2 separate regions of the Homo sapiens genome follow, and region 1 is linked to region 2. Evidence: promoter capture Hi-C in 16 types of primary human blood cells and fetal thymus (Javierre and others, 2016). All regions are on one chromosome and are shown on one strand. Each heading gives the region's core, a stretch centred on a gene start or on the middle of the fragment in contact. The rest is flanking DNA. Distances are from core to core; before and after follow the strand shown. Region 1 overlaps UGP2 (UDP-glucose pyrophosphorylase 2). Region 2 holds the start of RAB1A (RAB1A, member RAS oncogene family).

The links. The method cuts DNA at HindIII sites, captures the fragments that hold promoters and counts their contacts. A CHiCAGO score of 5 or more calls a contact.
Region 1: a fragment that was not itself captured here is called in contact with the fragment with the promoter of RAB1A in region 2 in 1 of 17 cell types (fetal thymus); the score reaches 6.5 in fetal thymus.

What each region holds. Positions count from the first base shown.
Region 1 is chr2:63,842,417-63,845,527 of GRCh38, reverse strand. The region is part of intron 1 of UGP2 (UDP-glucose pyrophosphorylase 2); the gene reads right to left. Among named protein-coding and RNA genes, the nearest start is that of UGP2, 2.1 kb to the right of the region's middle. The HindIII fragment of the contact is 1,431 bases long and covers 1,069-2,499 here.
Region 2 is chr2:65,128,772-65,131,918 of GRCh38, reverse strand. RAB1A (RAB1A, member RAS oncogene family) reads left to right here and starts at 1,813. Exons shown (of 6, transcript NM_004161.5): 1 at 1,813-2,026. The coding sequence starts at 2,004. RefSeq lists silencers at 1,315-1,664, 2,165-2,214 and enhancers at 1,517-2,030, 1,775-2,034, 2,031-2,545. The HindIII fragment of the contact is 2,599 bases long and covers 223-2,821 here.

The DNA of each region.
Region 1 (3,111 bases), core at 535-3,034, 1.3 Mb after region 2:
TTTTTTTTAACATAATAACACCTAGGCCTGAACATGAAACCTGGAATAGGAAAATAAAGAACTTTCATACCTGCCTTTTTTCTTTTAGTTCTGTTGATGACATGTGGTTATATTTTGGGTGGCAATGCTATCTGAAAGGCCACCATCATTTCAGGAAAGAAAAGTAAAATTGACTGGCTACCTAATATGTGCCTAGCACATCCACATAGTTCATCTCATTTCAGCCTCTCAATAACCCTGAGGCATAAGCATTACTGCCCAATTTTTATCTAAGAAGAAACTGAGGTTTGAAAGGTATGTGCCTAAGATCACCTGCTAGTAACGGTATTCAAATCTAAGTCTGTACCTTTCCATCTTTCTCAACATTTATATAATCTAAGAGGTGTTATAAAAACTACAACCAAAAATGTAAGATAAGCTACTAAATAGTAGATGGAAAATGCTAAGCTGTGGGCTTCTCATTTGTCATCCATGACAAATTCATTTAGAGTATCGTCCACTTACAAAACACTGTATTTCTCCCAAGGATATAATATTATCTTTGCCCAATGGGAACTGACAGTCTAGCTGGAGAAACAGGCCATTTCCACAGTTGTTAATGTTAGAAGCAACAAAAGATGTCGGGAAGGACTAGGGTTTTAGACACACTCATGTAAGAATTTCAGTGCTGTGCACTAGCAGCTCACACCTGTAATCCCAGTACTCTGGGAGGCTGAGGCTAGAAGATCGCTTAAGACCAGGAGTTTGAGACCAGCCTGAGAAACATAGGGAAAGCCTGTCTCTTTAAAAAAGGAGAAAAGTAGCCAGGCATGGTGGTGTGCACCTGTAGTCCCAGCTACTCAGGGGGCTGAGGTGGGAAAATTGCTTAAGCCAAGGAGATCAAGGCTGCAGTGAGCTGTGATCGCACCACTGCACTCCAGCCTGGCAACAAAGTGAGACCCTGCCTCAAAATCAATCTATCAATCAATCAGTGCTTTATACAAGCTGTGAACTTTGGACAAGATACTTAACTTTCCTCACCTGTAAGGGCAGGATAAAAAATCTACATCTCAGGACTCTTATAAAGCTTGAGAAAACCCATGAAAAAAAAAAGTTAGAAACCTAACATTTGTTAACTCTTTCCCCTATGAAGGAGCATGAACTACTAAGTGCCAGTGATTGGAAATATCAATATTTTCTGCAGCAAAGATCAAAGAATTTGATTTGCTTAAAAAAATAATCAAAACCAAAATTTCCAACCCTTACACTTGAAAGCTCTTTTGTGGAGACAGCTGTGTCATTTGCCAATTAGGTTTATCATTTACAACAGCAGCAGAGTTAAACATATAGAGGGCTCACACTGTACAAAATTTAAACAATGATAAACAGGAGCACATTCATGTCAAAAAATTTTGAGGAGGTGTCATATTCTTGTGCAAAACTGCCCATCTTAAAAGGAAAACTACCATTTAAAGTAAAAATGTATGACAACTATAGGCTATGGCATATGCCTAAGTCCCATCTACTCAGGAGGCTAACGCAGGAGGACAGCTTGAGCCCAGGGGCTTGAGGCTGTAGTGCACTATGATTGTTCCTGTGAATACCCACTGTACTCCAGCGTGGACAACACAGTAAGACCTTGACAAAAAAAGAAGAAAGAAAAAGAAAAAAGAAAAAAAGTGGCTGGCAACTAAGTGCAATCTGGTATCTTAGAGTGAATCATGGGAACTGTAATCTGAACAAAGCCTTTAGTTAACAGTAATGTACCTATGTTAATTTCTTAGTTTTGACAAATGTGCAACTTTTCTATAAATCCTGAAGTATTCCAAAATATAAAAAGTTTTTTTAAAAAAAGTGGATGACAAAGTAATGACAAACATACACAGCAACTCTTACCACTTGATTTTGAATCTTCTGAGGACAAGTTGGCATTACAGCAAAGGCTGTGAAATCAGTCAATGCTTGCCAATTCTGCAACCTATTCTAAAGCATAACTCTACATGGAACACCTTGGGTTTATTAATATTTCTAACTTTTAAAGAGAAGTAACTTGTCCACTTTTACCTAGCATATTCTTGCAAAATACCGCCTTTATGGTAACTGAATATTGTTATTACAAAACCAGTACGTTTCTAACAGTTCTGCCTTTCTATTCTTGAATAAGACATTTACTCAATCAGAACATAAGCATCTCTTACCACATATAAGGTATAACATGAATTTGAAAGTCTAATAACAAGTGACATTTCTGAGCTTAGCGCTAAAGGCAAGCATAGCGTTCGATCTGTTTCGATAATAACACAGGCAGTCGAATTCTCTTACTTTAATCTACTACACAAAATTTAAAGAAGAGTTAATAAAGCGATGTAGAACTCAGTAGGGCATTTTTATTCCCAGGGTCAAATGATGGCCATTACTGACACAACTTTTTTTTTCCAAAAGTACACCTACATTTATCAGGAAGCATAATAAGTGTTTGTGAACTTTACTAGCTGTGTGTTCATCAAGATGGCTGAAGCTTTCACACACTGGAGTCTACAAGGAAAGAGTTTACTTGCATACCAGAAGGCAAATCTCATGCTACAAACTGGTGTCAAAGGTTTATGCCAGCACCAATTTCAGTGAGTACACCGTACACACATGCATTCATATACACGTTACTGATAATCTCAGTTGAGGCATTCCCTAACCCTTTTTAAATACACATGTGGAATTTAGAGAGCAGTTTTCAAACTTCAAAGGAACCTTAATCATCTTTTCATAGTTCAAAAAAGGAAAAAATAAACACAGCAATGCAGCAAAGTCATTTCTCCAGCTGAAATGACCTCCAGCTTCTTCGGGCTACTCCCAGTTTCGCAATAAGTGAATCTGAGACGCAAACCACGTACACACAAACGAAGTAGAAGCGGAGAACACTAAAGCTTCCCCAACAGTCCCGGCAAAACCCACCCGGCTTTTCTCAGTCCTCCCGCTTCCCCAGCCCTTCCCGTCTGCGTGCACGCACAGGTACCTTGACACAGACCAGGAAAAGAGAACAAGGATTAATTAGCAGCCAAAAATCCTGTTTTATCACTTACAGCCACTATCCAGGAAAGCGACGGTACTACTAACCTGATTTCAGGGAGGCAAAAC
Region 2 (3,147 bases), core at 564-3,063:
GCCTCAGCCTCCCGAGTAGCTGGGATTACAGGCACGCGCCACCATGCCTGGCTAATTTTTGTATTTTTAGTAGAGACAGTGTTTCACCATGTTGGCCAGGCTGGTCTTGAATTCCTGACCTCGTGATCTGTCCGTTTTGGCCTCTCAAATTCCTGAGATTACAGGCATGAGCCACCGAGCCTGGCCAGTTTTCTGAGTTTTTATTTGAAATCAAAATAAGCTTTTTTTTTTTTTAATGGGCTTTAGAGTCCAGGGTAACGAACACTTTTTGGTGCCTATTACTGAACCATTCAGGGTATTCCTGGGGTGGTGACCGTGTTCATTTCAGAAACCAACATGTTCATTTCAGAAACCAAACTCGGGTAACTTTTGATAAGTTCATCAACTAAGGCCCATGGCAGAATTTGAGGGCTAAGGGGTGTAATTAGTGTATGGGTAGAAATAAGTGCCTTCTTTCTATATTTTGGCGTTGTAGGAATTTAAAGTGATTCTGCAGTAAGTCTCAGGAGACAATTTTCTTAGTTCTTAGAAGTTGGAAGATAAACTTTGGACAATGTATTACACTATGCCCTTTGTAATTAAATAACTCAAGATAATGTGTTAAAGTTTAGCGGAGATTTAAATTCCTGAGCTGATTAAAGAGAGCTGTTAAGGCCATAGGTTTTTTAAAAATGAGTTAATATTACTCCCAGAAATTGTAGGCACTATATAGTGATGAATTGCCTATTTTTATTGCTTATTATTTTCCAGTCTTGCAGAATGGCTCAGGGTTAGTAGCAACTAAAAGATAATACATTACAATTCAACCTGAAGGCCGGGACGAAGGTAGGAATTGGATTTTAGGCTGGCTCTGGGCTGTGTCCCTCCCATCCATGGGATGTGGAGCCATTGAAGGTTGTGGGGTCACGATGCAGGTGCTGTCTCAGAAAGATACATCCGACTGTGTGTGCAAATGGGCTGGGGCGGAGAGGAGAGAGAGAGGTAGAGTCCATTTGGAGACTACTGCAATAGCCAGGCTGACGAGTTAAGAGCGGGGCACAGTAAGAATGGGAAGAAATCTAAGAAGAAAATGGTAGTGCGCGGGGCCAACAATGGACGATGACCGAACCCAGGTGGGGATGGGTGAGTGACGAGAAGAACCGCTCCGTGCCGTCCAGGGAGCCCCTTGACTTCCCTTCTGTTCTTAGAGCGGACGTCCTCCTACCAGCCCCCAACCAGCGCCACCAGGGTGGCGCAAGCCTCAAGCTGGTCAGGTCAGCAACAGCCGCAACGGAGGCAGGAGCCGACACGCTCGTACCCCGGCCCCCTCCCCGCCCCCGCACCCCCGGCAGTCCCTCCGGTTTGACCACTCCCCCCGGTCCCTTGCCTCCCCCGACCCCCAGCCTCCGTCGGCCGCCGGCACCACCCTCCGCCCCTCTCCGCCCCCTCCCCCGTGGGGCGCTGACTCGCCCGGCTGCCACGTCTCACTGATGACATCACTAGGGCAGCTCGGCCTTAGCCAATCCGCCAGGGGGAGTCCGAGCGAAGTCCTAGCCAGCGAGTCAGAGGGGAGGGGAGCAGGGAGGGGCCGAGGGTGGGGAGGTGAGGGAGTGGGGAATGGGGCGGGCGACAACCCTTCAGGTACGCATGCCCCAGAGGCGCGGCGCTTGGCGGGAAGCTGAGTCCTGGCCTTGCGTCGCACTGTCTGTCCTCAGCTCGCGTAGCCGCGCTCGCGACTCCCTTTCCCGGCATGCCAGGCGGTGCGGCCGCCCTCTGGGCCGTGTAAAGGCCCCTCGGTCTAAGGCTTCCCTATTTCCTGGTTCGCCGGCGGCCATTTTGGGTGGAAGCGATAGCTGAGTGGCGGCGGCTGCTGATTGTGTTCTAGGGGACGGAGTAGGGGAAGACGTTTGCTCTCCCGGAACAGCCTATCTCATTCCTTTCTTTCGATTACCCGTGGCGCGGAGAGTCAGGGCGGCGGCTGCGGCAGCAAGGGCGGCGGTGGCGGCGGCGGCAGCTGCAGTGACATGTCCAGCATGAATCCCGAATAGTGAGTTCAGGAGAGCACCGGTCGGCTGGGTCCGTGGGCCAGCTTGGGGGATCTTAAAGGGGTCGAGGAGGGTTGGGGCAGAAGTCGGGGCATCGGCTGGGGTGAGGCGAGGGTGATGGGTCAGGAGAGGCTGGCGGCCGGGAGTCGGGCCCCATTGTCTGACGCGGAGGGGCGGCCGCGCGGGGGAGGGGTCGGGCCGGAGGGGTGAGCCGCCCGGGCCTGGACCGGGTCAGGTTAGAGGGCCTGACTGCGGGGCGGGTGCTGAGGAAGCCTGCCGAGGGGCCTGGGGCGGTGTGAAGGGGTATCTTCTCTCGGAGGCAGTGACTTTTGAAGGAGGACTTGTCTCTAAGGGGAGGGGATGGGGTGGGAGAGCCCTTCTAGAGGGCACTGTCAGACCCTGCGCCCGCACTCTGCGGAGCTGTCAGGATCTTCGGGGTAGAAACCAGCTTTACTTGTAAATCCTGAGCTTGTTGGCTCTCTCTCCTTCCATCCTCCCCGCCAGGTTTCAGGTAATATGGATGCTTTTCGGGACTGCGTGGGATTGAGGGGAATGAGTAGATGGTGAGAAGCAACTGAACATTTATTAGTTCTCTTTTTGAGTTGTGTCTTGGAGGAGTTGTTTAAGAGCTCGCCGGGTCCATTGCCCTCCTATAAAAACCTGGGCATTTGTGAGAATTTTGTTTTTTTTTTTTTTAAAGAGGACACCTAAGTCATTTTGTCTTCTGTGGGTCAAGGGAAAAAAAAAAAACTAAAGCCAAGAAATGTCTTTTTGATACTCGCAGATTAAAGGAAGCTTGCTGTCAAGTTGAAAGAGAAACGAACGGGACCTATGATAGATCTGTATGTAGGTTTTGGATTACCTGCTTGGATGCTTGCAGATAGGGAATGAGGTTCCATGACGTGTCATGAAAAGTTAATGCATTTCTTTTTCTTGCTTACTCAAGAAGTCACCACAGCAGATGTGACACACCTGGCACCTTTCCTGGGAACTGGTGTTCACTTCCCTTGGGTAGAGTTTGTTGGGCTCTCCTCAATGGCCCTTTAAAAATTTCCTCTACAGTTTACATGCATGTAAAGTAATGAATAATTGGAAGAGACCGAATTGGTATTCCTTTTCAGTG